Regions from separate parts of the Homo sapiens genome. Here all the other regions are linked to region 1. Evidence: promoter capture Hi-C in 16 types of primary human blood cells and fetal thymus (Javierre and others, 2016). All regions are on one chromosome and are shown on one strand. The core of a region is centred on a gene start or on the middle of the fragment in contact, and the rest is flanking DNA. Distances in the headings are between cores, read along the strand shown.

Region 1 (5,165 bases), core at 1,559-4,058:
TACATCTAACTACTGGTTTAGAGCAGTGGTCCCCAACCTTTTTGGCACCAGGGACCTGTTTCATGGAAGACAATTTCTCAACACCGACAGGGCGGAAATAACACATTTTGTAAATATCTTTTTGTTAAAATTCATATGAAATGTTTTGGGGGAGGAATGGCCAAACCACTTTTTTTTGTTTTTTGAGACCGAGTCTTGCACTCTTGCCTGGTCTGGAGAGCAATGGTGTGATCTCGGCTCACTGCAACCTCCGCCTCCCGGATTCACGTGATTCTCCTGCCTCAGCCTCCCGAGTAGCTGGGATTACAGGCGCACACCACCACACTCGGCTAATTTTATTGCATTTTCAGTAGAGACGGGGTTTCACTATGTTGGCCACACTGGTCTCAAACTCCTGACCTCATGCCCACCTCGGCCTCCCAAAGTGCTGGGATTACAGGCGTGAGTCACCGCGCCCGGCCAACCACTTCTTCAGTAATATGAATAATACACATGGACAGGGTTAGGGGCATGGTTTCAGGATGAAACTATTCCACCTCAGATCATCAGGCATTAGTCAGATTCTTATAAGTGTGCAACCTAGATTCCTTGCATGCGCAGTTTACAATAGGGTTCGTGCCCCTAGGAGAATCTAACCTCACGGCTGATCTGACAGGAGGCAGAGCTCAGGTGGTAGGTAATGCTCACTAGCCTGTCACTCACCTCCTGCTCTGTAGCCTGGTTCCTAACAGGCCACGGACTGGTACTGCTCTGCGGCCCCGGGTTTGGGGGCCCCTGGTTTAGAGGACACAAAGGCAACAGAGATACATGTTAAAGGATACTGTGCGATGCAATCTGCTAAATTTAGAACTGTAAGGAAAAATAGGGGCTAATCCCATAGCTATAACTATGAGGGAACAAATATAGATTAAAAGATGTCAAATGTGCATCACCCAAACACAATAGGCAGATCCCTGTGGGATTTTGGTTCAAACAAGCTAATTGTAAAAAGACATTTAAGAGACAGTTGAAGAAATCGTTATCTGACTGGATATTGACATTAGAGAATTTTTATTAATTTGTGTATGTGTAATGACAGTACTGTGGCTCTGTAAAACTGAAAAACCTAGCTCCTGATGGGGGCGGGGAGGCGGACTAAAATAACATAAAGATCGGAGATTCAGTTCCTGAAACCTTCTGTCAATGTTGGCTTTAGCTGAATTTCAAGTCAAGTTGACATTTTTTGAAAGCAGGAAGCAATGACAGAGTGGACTACTGATGCTGTCACCATCTGCCAGCACAACATAAATTAGAACAGAAAGGACTAAGCAAAGGTCTTCCACCATTTTAACGAGAGGAAATGGCATCAGTACAATCAACATACACAATTTTTACAAACAACTTTTAGATTTGCATCTACATACATTTTAAAAGGCAGTGTGCCTGTTTATAAATCTCTACTCTAATTTAGTTTCAGAGCTTTTTACTACCCTGATCACTGATAATGCCACAGTCAAAAAGCAAACTCAAAATAAAAATCAATCTAAAAATGGTACTGCATGCCAAATAAGAAAATATATACACTTTATCATTAAGCTACAGCTAACAGAAATCTAATCAACGATCCTTATGATTTCCTCGTATCTAAAAAATAAATGCAAGCACTTGAGGAACTGTATAAATACAGGGCATCTACCCTACAATACTGCTTTATTAAAATAATAAATTCTTTTAATAAGTTTAACCAGACATAAGGCTCAGGGAAAACTACTCTGTGCATATCAGCGTACGGTGCTGAAACTGTAAAAGACGACCTGTCTCTGACATCATACTCATCTTTACTCTCCTGATGTCGTAAGGGACGTAAGAAAAACCACATTATAAGCCTAAATGTACTGTCTTCAAGTATCTCCATGATTAAAGTGTTCCTAAGAAACCGTCCTTATTTCTTTCTATCCCTCATTTGTGTGCATGGAGCCGTTAGTTCAGGGTTCTCCAATTTCAGTCCACGATTTATGCCACATTTCCGTACCTCTTGTACTAACATAACCGTTTAAACCAACTCACTATTTTAAAAGCTGCCAACCTTAACATGCCACACTAAATGAGCGGGTCCCCTTGTGCCGTGAATGAAGTAGTCCCAACAGCGCTAGCTAGACAGCAGCCCTGGCAGGGAGGCCGCACTGGGGTCTCTCCGCTGAAAAGGAAGGTGGGTCCGCCGGGGAAGGTGAGTACTGGGCGCAGCTCGCTCGCCCACCTGGCCACTCTCCGAAGCGCCCCCAGCCACCTGGACTCCGAGGAAGGGCTGACCACCTGGCGGGGCCGAACCCCACGCCGGGCTGCGCCACGCCAGACTCCGCCAGTGTGCAGGGCATAGCGGGCCAGGCCGAGGGACTGGGCTTCGGGGCGGACCCAAGCCGGCGGGGACGCGCCTGGTGGTTCGCAGGCCGTTGCGCAAACCGGCCGCAAGCCATGAGGCCGCGAAGCCAGAATCACCAAGGCAGCCTGGGCCGCCTCCAGACCAGGACACGGCAGCCCCTTGCCCCTCCAACTTGCGCACCGGCGGTTACAGGGTTGCCGCAAGCACGCCCCTGAGCCTTCCCGCCGTTACCTCGGGCCGGCGCTGCGCACGCGCGCCACCGCTAAGCTTACGTCCAGCCTCTGTAGTCGGCGCGTTTGTTCCGCCCACTGCCCCCACACTTTTAATAATTGAAACAATGCCTTCTCCAGACTTCCCCTGCACGCGAGCAAATGAACTCACCCACATCCGGGAATCCGAGGAAAGCGAGTGCAGACACGTGATGCGGGGGAGGGGGGGGGGGCGTGGCAGGAGCAAGCGTCTGCCGCGGTGGCCGGGTGCCGGTAAGGGTTTCCAGCGCCCCCGGCCTAGGTTTTGGAGGCGCGGGAATGCGTTCGTTGCTCAGTGTCGGACTTCCCCCTATTCCCATCGGCCGAGGCTGTCACTTTACGCTCATAACCGTTTTTCTTTACTGCACTCGTGTCGGGAGGAAAGGGACTTGCGTGGCACCCCCAGACCTCCCCGTCTCCGCTTCCACGTTTGGTACATCCTGCCTGAGGCAGGAAGCCGCAGCTGAGGGACGGCCTGTCGTACGGTGCGGATGGTGGTGGCCTGCGAGGCTCATTTCTAGCAAGGAACAAGGCTTTCCCGCTTTGATTTTATAAATATTATGTTTACAAAGCTGTAATATATAGAAATTGATAAGACGTGTCCCTGTCCCTGGAAACGCAGGCACCGCGTGTTTGGAAAGACATTCATCTGGGCTGTTTGACAGACTCCCCAGTTGGTGCCATGCTCTGTGCTTAGGGAACTGTGAGACCCCTGGAGGGGTGGGTACCGGGACCGCACTCAGCCTGGGGTTTGGAGGCGGCCTCCTATAGGAAGCGACCTGGGACCTAAGATTTTTAGACTGACTGTGGGTTCACTGGAATAAAAAGGAAGAAACAAAGAGCATTGCAGGCATCGGGACTGTCACGTGAGTAAGAAAAGTTTGTTCAGGAAACAGTGGTCGTACTGGGTGACGAGTACTTGGGACGGTGGCTTTAATACACAAGATAATCAGTGTGCCCTGGGCATTGATTATCTTGATGCTTCCCATCCTTCCAGCCCCTTATGAGGGAAGGCACCTTCGCGCCTAATCCCGGAAATGGGATGTTGACCTTCAAGAGCTGACGCCTGCGTTTATCTTGAAAGGAAGAGTGGCATTAGTGATGTGGAAAAGGGGGTTTTAACTGTCAAGGCTGGAAAATGTGACAGGGTTGGAGGTGTTTGGAGAAGGGACAGGTGAAAAAGATTGAGACCAAATGTGGAAAGATCTACTAAGGAATCATGGGTACAAAATGTACACGTAACAGTTGGAGGCAATAATACCTGAGCAATTGACCACAAAGCTGACCTAGCTTGTTTAGTAGATTAAGTTAGGACAAGAAGCAAGAGTTCAAGGATAGAAGGCCTACTGAAGCTCGAGTGATTTGAGAAAACTTTACAAAGGTGGAAAATCTACGTGGGCCTCCGAAAGTCAGGTTTGGATCAGCTGAGGAAAGTGAGAAGGGTATCCCAGGAGACAGAGCAGCAAGGACAAAGGAGTAGCAGCAGGAAAGTGGGGAGCACTTGTAAGACAGGGACTTCAAAAGTATAACCAAAACTTCGTCTTGCTTTGAGTTATCCACTGGGTAGTACTCGGTTAATTATTGAGTACTGGATTAATTAAGCCCTCACCTGGCTCACCGGTGACAGAAGTAGCAGGGCGCATTTTGCTTAACTTTTGCCGAGATCCTTGTCATGGGGGTGTAAACCCTTTCCCACACCAATCTGTGTATAATTTTTGCCAAGGTGTTAGGGATATCTTGCAGTTATCCTATGGGGGACAGCTGTGAGCCTTTTTGGTTTTTTTTGTTTTTTTTTTTCCGAGACGGAATCTTGCTCTGTCGCCCAGGCTGGAGTGCAGTGGCGCGTGGCGCTATCTCGGCTCACTGCAAGCTCCGCCTCCCAGGTTCACGCCATTCTCCTGCCTCAGCCTCCCGAGTAGCTGGGACTACAGGCGCCTGCCACCATGCTCGGCTAATTTTTTGTATTTTTAGTAGAGACGAGGTTTCACCCTGTTAGCCAGGATGGTGTTGATCTCCTGACCTCGTGATCCGCCCACCTCGGTCTCCCAAAGTGCTGGATTACAGGCGCGAGCCACCGCGCCCGGCCCTGTGAGCCATTTTTACAAAAACTTCCACCTGCCTTGGCCCAAACCTCAGCGTTCTTAGGCACAGGAGCTCATGAACATACTGAGATAACACTAAACTGGACTATGCGAAGGGACCAACTACAGACCTGACACAAATCCTCAAGGCAAGACGATGTCTGAAGTTGAGCTTGTAAAGGAAATGGCTTCCTTCCTTAAAATATCACCCAGGCTGAGCTCTGAAAAAAGCACCTCCAGATGGTGGGTTCCACCCCGCTCCACCACCCCAAAATTGCTTATTGTGTGAGTCTCCATAGTCTCAGAAACTGAGAGTACCTTTGATGCCAGTGGCTTCCGGGCTTTTTGGATTGTCACTTGGTAGCAGGGAGCACCCATAGGATGATGCCTATGATGAGTCAGGGCCCAACCTTGGAAACAGGGAAATCCAGAAGTATCCTACAAGCTAGCCAGCCTTTTGGATTAGATTATAGCAGT
Region 2 (5,165 bases), core at 887-3,386, 6.5 Mb before region 1:
GTTAAAGACAGTTTGGTAAGTGATGATACCGGCTCTTTAGTCCATCTGTAAAGAATTGAGGGTTCTGGGAATTTAATCATGAAAATGCAGGCTTTTTTACGTTATTAACTGAAGAAAAATGGGTGCCATTTACAGATTTTTCACGATTAGAAAACAAAAATATGTCAGAAGGAGCCAGGTCAGGAATGTAAGATGGATACCTGATAGTTTCCCATCGAAATCCCTGGAAAAATGCCCTTATTTAAAGAGAGGAATGAGCAGGAACATTGTCCTGATGGAGAAGGACTCTCTGGTGAAGATTTCGTAGGTGTTTTTATGCTAAAGCTTTGCTTCACTTTCTCCTATAGTAAGCGGATGTTATTGCTCTTCCACCCTCCAGAAAGTCAACAGGCAAAATACCTTGAGCATCCCAAAAAGCTGCTGCTATGACTTCGGCTCTTGACCAGTCTACTTTTGATTTGACTGGACCACTTGCACCTCTTGGTAACTATTGCTTTGATCCAGAATCATACTGAGAAAGCTATGTTTGATCTCCTGTTACAATTCTTCAAAGAAATGTTTCAATATATGATCCCACTTGTTTACAATTTCCATTGAAAGCCCTGCTCTTGTCTGCAGCTCATCTGGGTGCAACAGTTTTGCACCCATCGGGTGAAAAGTTTGCTCAACTTCAGTTTTTCAGTGAGAAATGTGTAAGTAGAACCAGTTGAAATGTCTATGGTGTTGTATATTATTTGTGCTGTTAATTGTGGGTCCTCTTCAATTAGGGCACACCGAAGAATAATCTTTTCCTCAAAAATCGATGTGGATTGTCTGCCACTGCAGGCTTCCTCTTCAACATTGTCTCATCCCTTCTGCAAACAAGTTATCCATTTGTAAACTTCAGATTTCTTTGGGGGAATTTTCCCCATCAAACTTTTGTAAAGCATCCTTGATTTCACCATTCTTCCACCCAATCTTGACCATAAATTTGATGTTTTTTCTTGCTTCAATTCATGCTGCTCTGATAGGGGCTGTTTTCAAGCTGATGTCTTATCCTTTTTAGTGCCTCAAACTAGATCTTGTTCAGATACATTATAACAAGTGAGTACGAATTTTTGGTGCAAAAAAGTTTGAAATTCATACATAGTTTTTTTTTTAGTTAGGAAAAATGTTTATATAAATTTAAATTTACATATATTCCATCCTTCTCTTAACTGAAAAGAGTAAGAAACTTTCTGAGATTTTCTTTGTTACCAGTTCCTTTTTTTTTTTTTTTTTTAATATACTTTAAGTTCTGGGATACATGTGGAGAATGTGGAGGTTTGTTATGTAGGTATACATGTGCCATGGTAGTTTGCTGCACCCATTAACTCGTTGTCTACATTAGGTATTTCTCCTAATGCTATCCATCCCCTTGCCCCCCAACCCCCGACAGGCCCCAGAGTGGATGTTCCCCTCCCTGTACCCATATGTTCTCATTTTTCAACTCCCACTTATGAGTGAGAACATGGGGTGTTTGGTTTTCTGTTCTTGTGTTAGTTTGCTGAGAATGATGGTTTGCAGCGTCATCCATGTCCCTCCAAAGGACATGATCTCATCTTTTTTATGGCCGCATAGTATTCCATGGTGTGTATGTGCCACATTTTCTTTATCCAGTCTAACATTGATGGGCATTTGGGTTGGTTCCAAGTCTTTGCTATTGTGAATAGTGCTGCCAGAAACATACGTGTGCATGTGTCTTTATAGTAGAATGATTTATAGACCTCTGGGTATATACCCAGTAATAGGATTGCTGGGTCAAATGGTATTTCTAGATCCTTGAGGAATCGCCACACCATCTTCCACAATCGTTGAACTTATTTACACTCCCACACTGTTACCCAGTGTGAAAGCATTCCTATTTCCCCACCTTCTCTCCAGCGTCTGTTGTTTCCTGACTTTTCAATGATCGCCATTCTAACTGGCGTGAGATGGTATCTCATTGTGGTTTGCATTTGCATTTCTCTAATGACTAGTGGTGATGAGCTTTTTTTCATATGTTTGTTGGCCACATAAACGTCTTGTTTTGAGAAGTGTCTGTTCATATCCTTCATTCATTTTTTGATGGGATTGTTTTTGTTGTTGTTTTGTTTTTGTTTTTGCTTGTTTTTTTTGAAACAGAGTCTTGCTCTTGTTACCCAGGCTGGAGTGCAATGGTGCAATCTCAGCTCACTGCAACCTCCACCTCCTGGGTTCAAGTGGTTCTCCTGCCTCAGCCTCCGTAGTAACTGGGATTAGAGGTGCCTGCCACCATGCGCAGCTAATTTTTTTTTTTTTTTGGTATTTTTAATAGAGACGGGGTTTCACTGTGTTGGCCAGGCTGGTCTTGAACTCCTGACCTCAGGCAATCCACCCGCCTCAGCCTCCCAAAGTACTGGGATTACAGGCATGAGCCACTGTGCCCAGCTGGTTTTTTTTTTTTTTTTTTTATAAATTTGTTTAAGTTCCTTGGAGATTCTGGATATTAGCCCTTTGTCAGATGGATAGATTGCAAAAATTTTCTCCCATTCTGTAGGTTGCCTGTTCACTCTGGATAGTTTCTTCTGCTGTGCAGAAGCTGTTTAGTTTAATGAGATCCCATTTGTCAATTTTGGCTTTTGTTGCCATTGCTTTTGGTGTTTTATTCATGAAGTCTTTGCCCATGCCTATGCCTGAATGATATTGCCTAGGTTTTCTTCTAGGGTTTTTATGATTTTAGGTCTTGTATTTAAATCTTTAATCCATCTTGAGTTAATTTTTGTATAAGGTGTAAGGAAGGAGTCCAGTTCCAGTTTTCTGCATATGGCTAGCAGTTTATTAAATAGGGACTCCTTTGCCCATTGCTTGTTTTTCTCAGGTTTGTCAAAGATCAGATGGTTGTAGATGTGTGGTGTTATTTCTGAGGCCTCTGTTCTGTTCCAGTGGTCTATATATCTGTTTTGGTACCAGTACCATGCTGTTTTGGTTACTGTAGCCTTGTAGTATAGTTTGAAGTCAGGTAGCATGATGCCTCCAGCTTTGTTCTTTTTTCTTAGGATTGTCTTGGCTATATGGGCTCTTTTTTGGTTGCATATGAAATTTAAAGAAGTTTTTTCTAATTCTGTGAAGAAAGTCCATGGTAGCTTGATGGGAATAGCATTGAATCTATTAATTACCTTGGGCAGTATGGCCATTTTCACGATATTGATTCTTTCTATCCATGAGCATGGAATGTTTTTCCCTTTGTTTGTGTTCTCTCTTATTTCCTTGAGCAGTGGTTTGTAGTTCTCCTTGAAGAGGTCCTTCACATCCCTTGTAAGTTATATTCCTAGGTATTTGATTCTCTTTGTAGCAATTGTGAATTGGAATTTGCCCATGATTTGGCTCTCTGTTTGTCTATTATTGGTGTACAGGAATGCTTGTGATTTTTGCACATTGATTTTGTATCCTGAGACTTTGCTGAAGTTGCTTATCAGCTTAAGGAGTTTTTGGGCTGAGATGATGGGGTTTTCTAAATATTCAATCATGTCATCTGCAAACAGAGGTAATTTGACTCCCTATCTTCCTATTTGAATACCCTTTATTTCTTTCTCTTGCCTGATTGCCCTGGCCAGAGCGTCTAATACTATGTTGAATAGGAGTGTTGAGAGAGAGCATCCTTGTCTTGTACTGGTTTTCAAAGGTGATGCTCCCAGCTTTTGCCCATTCAGTATGATACTGGCTATGAGTTTGTCATAAATAGCTCTTATTATTTTGAGGTATGTTCCATCAATACCTAGTTTATTGAGTGTTTTTAGCATGAAGGGGTGTTGAATGTTATCAAAGGCCTTTTCTGCATCTATTGAGATAATCATGTGGTTTTTGTCATTGGTTCTGTTTATGTGATGGATTATGTTTATTGATTTGCATATATTGAACCAGCCTTGCATCCAAGGGATGAAGCCAACTTGATTGTGGTGGATAAGCTTTTTAATGTGCTGCTGGATTCAGTTTGCCTCTGTTTTATTGAGGATTTTTGCATCGATGTTCATCAGGGATATTGGCCTGAAATTTTCTTTTTTTGTTGTGTCTCTGCCAGGTTTTGGTATCAGGATGATGGCGGCCTCATAAAATCATAAAATGAGTTAGGGAGGAGTCTCCCTTTTTCTATTGTTTGGAATAGTTTCAGAAGGAATGATACCAGCTCCTCTTTATACCTCTGGTAGAATTCGGCTGTGAATCCATCTGGTCCTGGGCTTTTTTTGGTTGGTAGGCTATTACTTACTGCCTTAATTTCAGACCTTGTTATTGGTCTATTCAGGGATTTGACTTCTTCCTGGTTTAGTCTTGGTGGGGGTGTATGGTCTAGGAATTTATCCATTTCTTCTAGATTTTCTAGTTTATTTGCATAGAGATGTTTATAGTATTCTCTGATGGTAGTTTGTATTTGTGTGGGATCAGTGGTAATATCCCCTTTATCGTTTTTAATTGTGTCTATTTGATTCTTCTCTCTTTGCTTCTTTATAAGTCTGGCTAGTGGTCTATCTATTTTGTTGATCTTTTCAGAACAGCTCCTGGATCCATTGATTTTTTTCAGGGTTTTTTGTGTCTATATCTCCTTCAGCTCTGCTCTGATCTTAGTTATTTCTTGTCTTCTGCTAGCTTTTGAATTTTTTTTGCTCTTGCTTCTCTAGTTCTTTTAATTGTGATGTTAGGGTGTCAATTTTAGATCTTTCCTGCTTCCTCCTGTGGGCATTTAGTGCTATAAATTTCCCTCTGAACACTGCTTTAGCTGTGTCCCAGAGATTCTGGTATATTGTGTCTTTGTTCTCATTGGTTTCAAAGAACTTACTTATTTCTGCCTTAATTTCGTTATTTACCTAGTAGTCATTCAGGAGCAGGTTGTTCGGTTTCCATGTAGTTGTGTGGTTTTGAGTGAGTTTCTTAATCCTGAGTTCTAATTTGATTGTTCTGTGGTCTGAGAGACTGTTATTATGTCCATTCTTTTGCATTTGCTGAAGAGTGTTTTATGTGGTCAATTTTAGAATAAGTGCTATGTGGTCTTGAGAAGAATGTGTATTCTGTTGATTTGGGGTGGAGAGTTCTGTAGATGTCTGTTAGGTCCACTTGGTCCAGAGCTGAGTTTAAGTCCTGAATATCCTGGTTAATTTTCTGTCTCATTGATCTAATATTGACAGTGGGGTTTT
Region 3 (5,165 bases), core at 1,349-3,848, 5.2 Mb before region 1:
GGGTGGGATGATTCCAAGGCATGCTCTTCACACAGTTTTCTAGGGTTTTCCCCTAGGATTAAGCCCTAAACATCTATTATAGTAGCTGGCTTAATCTTTTATTGAGCTCCCCTTTTCTTCCCTGTATTGCTTCTTCATTACTCTGCTGGTGTTCCATGTACCTCTCAAATAACTACTTGCATTAATTCTTACCTCAGGATCTGGTTCTGAGGCACTCAAGCTGAGACATCCTCTATGTAAAATCTTCCTCCTTCCTGAGGTGGCATTAGGTGGCCACCTTCCTTGAGCCATAATGGCAGATAGGATCCAGGAGAAATGAAACTTACCAATAAAGGAGAGATCTGAAAATATTATTCCCATTATACCCATAATCCAGTAGTCTTTTTGTGAGCTTAAGCAAATACAAGACTTGCATTTAGGTATTCCTCCTTCTAAAAAATTAGGAGGTAGTTGCCTCTCCAAAATGGATTTCTCAGCCATTGCGTCTTCACCGCTTAGGTTAGGTAAAGCTTGGCTATTATATGAGGTTCTTACCTTCCAGCACAAGGGGACGCTACTTTTTTAAAAAAATATTTTTATTTCCATAGGTTATTAGGGAACTGGTGGTATTTGGTTACATGAGTAAGTTCCTTAGAGGAGATTTGTAAGATTTTGGTATACCCATCACCCGAGCAGTATACACTGAACCCAATTTGTAGTCTTTTATCTCTCACTCCCTTCCCATTCTTCCCCTCTGAGTCCCCAAAGTCCACTGTGTCATTCTTATGTCTTTGCATCCTCATAGCATAGCTCCCACTTATGAGAATATACCATGTTTGGTTTTCCATTCCCGAGTTACTTCACTTAGAATAACACTCTCCAATCTCATCCAGTTGCTGTGAATGCCATTAATTCATTCCTTTTTTCTTGCCTAGGAAACCAGGCTTCCTCCTAGACCAAGCTTTAGTCTTCACTACCTCAGGCAGAGAAAGCTTCCCTTGCATGAGGAAGTCATTGCCCAGCCTCTTCTCTGCTCTCTGTGTGCAGCTTCTCCCTCCCTGGCCTAGGGCCCTGACCCAGAATGACTCTTCAGCCCACGATTTTAATCGAAGGCCTCTAATCAACCTGTGGTACTACATGCTACACAAGATTCTCAGAAATCCCTAAGCTTTCTCATGAGCCTCCCACCCTGCTGGGAAATAAGCTGACTTATCAATTAAAGAATATCCAAAGATGTTAAGCCACTTAATCCTCCCCAAAACTCAGTGCGGTAGGGGTTGTTACCTCCCATTATACGAAAGGAAAGTGAGGCTTGGGAAGTAAAGAGACTTGTCCAAGATCACCTTCTGGAGCCACATTTTACACCACAGGTAAGAGAAAAGGGATCCGAGAGGGCACGGACACTGTGTCTTCAGACTGAGTGGGGAAGTACCATTTACCTGGGTACTTATTGGGTGCAAGTTGCATGCCCCCGGTGCTAATACACAAGGGACAAATTTATGGGCCTCCTAAAACTGTGGACAGTGCACCCGTCCAGCCAACTTCATGGGTGCACCGTGAGGCTCTGGTGATGTGGACAGGCTTATAAAACACTCTCCATACTAAGATGAGGTTGTGTTCCTGTGTCTAGGAAACGCTGGAAATTAAGTGTACAGCAATCAAAAAACCTTGACATCATCCTTGATGTCTCTCTTTTTCGCACACTCCAATTCACTCCATTAGGAAACTGTATTGGCAGAATCTAGTGAATCTTGTCCTTCAAGGCCTCTCTCTGCAAGGCTCCCATGAGCCCTGGGGGCTTATGGAGAGTTCTGGGTGGGCAGAGGAAGCCAGACTGCGTTAGGGAAGCAAATTTGGGACCTAAATTTCCTAAGAAGGTTTTAGGGGATAGGGACCCCAATCTCTAAGACCCCAGGATTCTGTTAAGATTTATTTTCTCATTCCAAATAAATGTTCACTGGCAAGCCCTAATTCTGTCTTCTCTTTCTTAAGCAGCCCTCCCTTCCTTCTCCCCACACAACTGTGTATGCTTCAGGCCCCAGAAATCCTTCCCTGCTTTGAGGTCTGGCGTTTACCAGGGCAGGGCTTGAGAATAGAGGTGTAAATTTGTCAGAAGGAAACAGGGGCCGCGCAGTAAGAGAGTAGATCCTCATATAACATGGCAGAAAGTCAATGGATAAATCAAGAAATCGCTATGTAAGTTTCTTTTTTTATTTTTTTATTTTATTTATTTATTTTTTTTTTGCGACAAGCGGGTGACCACTAGAAGAAATTAACGGAGGAATTGTTAAAAAGAGCTGTGATGGGAGGGAGAAGTGGCCTGTTGCTTTCATTATAAGCAAATCTAGATAATTTTATTTTCTAATAAGTAAGTGGGCGTTACTTTCATGTATTTTTTTAAAAGAAAATTAAATAAAAATACAAAACAAACAGAATACAAAACAGGAGAATAAAAAAGCAAACACGCACGCAACACAAAAGAGCCTTGGCGGTTGGGAGCCAGCGGGCGGGGGCGGGGGCAGGGGAGAGGGCGGGGCTTAGGACCCTGGGCGGGGCCAGGGCCGGGTCTCCTTAGGGCCCGCCCCAGCGAAGGGGCGGGGCGCAGATCTGTTTCCCTCAGACTCCATCTGCCCGGGGCCGCTAAGGGAGCGCAAGGTCAAGTTCGCCTTGGCCCCGCCTCCAGCTCAGGTACTAGGGGATCTAGACCTGAGGCTGCCCGGGCCGGAGGCAGCCTTGAGTCCCGAGACCAAACGTCGTTTCCCTCTCGGACCTCGGGCGCCGGGCCGCGCGCTGACCGACAGCCCCTGCTAGGCCCAGCAGGTCCCCTAGTCCCCCGCAGTCCCCCGAGACTCGCCGAGCGCCGTTGCTGAGCCCTGCAAATAGCAGGTAAGCGCAGCGTGGGCCCCTCGTCAGCCCACTAGGACCTGGATCGCGGCTGAATGCCCGGGCCCACGTGACTCCTGGCCCCTAACTGAGTCCTGGGAGTCCCCGCTGGGGCGACAGGTGGCGGCGGAGTGCGGAGCCATCCGGGGTGGCGCGAACCGGGGGGACAGCTCCGCGCTGCCTCTGCGCGCCGGCGGTTCTCGCTGCAGCGTGTCAACCTAACCCCCAGCTCCCCTTTGGCTATGACCAGAGTCCCGGAGACGTGGGTTCGGATCCCACCTTTAGCACTCGTGCACTCAAAGGTTAAAAATATAAGCACAGTGTCTAACAAATACTTAACGTGTTCCACTCAGTGTCCGCTGCTGGGCTAAGTGCTGGGGTTACAGTAGCAGGCCAAAAAATGTGGTGCCCTCCCCCGTGCAGCTCACAGTCCAGTGGGGGGAGACCGACAGCAAATGGATATCTATGCAAACAAGTGTGAACGTTAAAACTGTGGTCAGAGCTATGAAGATTGAAATTCTAGGGTGCTGGAGAGATTTTATCAGGGCCCCCAGCTACAAAGGCTGCTGGAACTAAAACTTTAGAGAATTCCCGGGCGGGGAACAACAGAGCAAACTCATTTTGTTGGGAGAGAATGTGGCTTGAGGAAAGGAGGGTTGGTGGGGCTGGCCTGCAGAGAGCTGGGGGGAAAGCAAGTTCCTTAACCTTAACGTTCTCCTCTGTAAAATGGGATTGTTCTACCCATTGAGAATGGAAATGGTGAATGTAAATGACTTAGCACTGCGTGATGGGTGCTGGATGTTACTCTGCACTAAACATCCAAGGCTTGATGTTGTTCTGGACTAAACACAGTGTGCCTGCCTCTCAGCAAAGTCACTTCCCCTCTCCTTGAGTCCTGTTTCTTCCTCTATCAAATAAGTGGTTCTGAGTAGAATCTCTCAAACAGCCTGTTCTCTAAAATGATGACTGGTTTAGTTGTTCATTCTTGAAACATTTAACTGGCGCCCACTTTACCCTGGCTCTGAGGATTCAGAGAGAAATCAGACAGGGGCCCTGCCCTCCTGGAGCCCATGTCCGGTGGGCCAGGTGAAATAAAGTGACAGTTCCACCCTGGCACAACCCAGAGAAAGGGTTCTTACCCACTGGCCTTGCAGGGGAAAGCTTCTCTGTTTTTCTCAGAAAGCCACCCAGGAGCCCCTGAAGGTATGGTTCACACAGCTCCACTGAGCATCAGTTACTTCTTGAATTTCATTGGTGGTTCTCAGCTTTTGGTGTCACCTCTTAAAACTGGACAGAAGACTTCCCAGAAGCAGCAACTATGCTGGGACCTTGCTAAGGACGTGTCAGACCTTGAGACCCCATGGATTTGGGAGAGCATTTTAGGTTTCAGGAAACATCTGTCAGCTGCTCACTGTATTTTATTGGCTCAAATGATCCCAATTTCTTATTTGGCTCTGTTCACAACATTGTTGTAGACAAAGAAAGTGCTCCATGAAAACCAACTGAGAGGCCCAGAGAGTAGGGGAACCCAGATGAGGCAGGAGTCTGGCACCATTTGTGGGGAGTGGTAAAAAAGAACAGGTATGATGTTAACAGAGGGTGTTGGAGGGAAGAGGAGAGAGAGCAGCCATTGTGCAGCCTCTCTTTTCCCCTCTCAGACCACTGCAGGATGCCAGCCCATGAGAAGGGAAGCTCCAGGCTTGGTGGTCACAGACCTGGCACTTCTCAGCTCTGTGACTGACCCTGGGCAGCTCACTCACCTTGTGAGTCGTGAGGATTGCTCAGGCTTAACAGGTGCTTAGCATATCGTTGGCCCTGAAGAAATATTAACTCCCACCCTCTCCTTCTCCTGAATGAACTAAAATATACATAGTTGTAGTGTCTACCTCAGAAGGTTATTATGGGGATTTAATGAGGACCTAAAATACATAGAGCAGTACCTGACATGTGGGAGGATACTACTACTATAACTATTGATATCGTTCCTTAGTCTGGACAAAAATTGATGAAACAAGACAGGGCAGAGGCGGGAGAGGGATAGGAGTGGAGGCAGTATGAGGAATTGTGCAGGGTGATTAGTCAGGGGGTTAGATTATCTGTTGCAGTGGTTTTGCCATAAAGCAAGAGCCTGGCAGCAGAGAGGGGTGTTCTGCATGATAAAGGGCCTCCTGGGCAGCTGCACTGTCAGAAAGCCCCAGAAAGCCCCAGTGTCTTTGTAGACTCAGGCCAAAGAAAGCGTAGCAAAAGTTGGAGAAAACTAGGGTTGAAAAGGGTCTAAAATGGTCTTTTTGATGATGTGTCTC

What was found. The method cuts DNA at HindIII sites, captures the fragments that hold promoters and counts their contacts. A CHiCAGO score of 5 or more calls a contact.
Region 2: a fragment that was not itself captured here is called in contact with the fragment with the promoter of ANAPC13 in region 1 in 1 of 17 cell types (non-activated CD4 T cells); the score reaches 7.8 in non-activated CD4 T cells.
Region 3: the fragment with the promoter of NMNAT3 here is called in contact with the fragment with the promoter of ANAPC13 in region 1 in 2 of 17 cell types (naive CD8 T cells and activated CD4 T cells); the score reaches 7.7 in naive CD8 T cells.

What each region holds. Positions count from the first base shown.
Region 1 is chr3:134,483,628-134,488,792 of GRCh38, reverse strand. It overlaps ANAPC13 (anaphase promoting complex subunit 13), which reads left to right and starts at 2,808. Exons shown (of 3, transcript NM_015391.4): 1 at 2,808-2,841. CEP63 (centrosomal protein 63) reads right to left here and starts at 2,736. Exons shown (of 15, transcript NM_001353108.3): 1 at 2,591-2,736. RefSeq lists enhancers at 1,804-2,622, 2,714-2,823, 2,904-3,003, 3,034-3,153. The HindIII fragment of the contact is 3,493 bases long and covers 2,629-5,165 here.
Region 2 is chr3:140,935,921-140,941,085 of GRCh38, reverse strand. No RefSeq gene overlaps it. Among named protein-coding and RNA genes, the nearest start is that of SLC25A36, 3.3 kb to the left of the region's middle. The HindIII fragment of the contact is 3,620 bases long and covers 327-3,946 here.
Region 3 is chr3:139,675,405-139,680,569 of GRCh38, reverse strand. It overlaps NMNAT3 (nicotinamide nucleotide adenylyltransferase 3), which reads left to right and starts at 2,598. Exons shown (of 7, transcript NM_001401600.1): 1 at 2,598-2,865. RefSeq lists a silencer at 2,495-2,544. The HindIII fragment of the contact is 2,876 bases long and covers 1,150-4,025 here.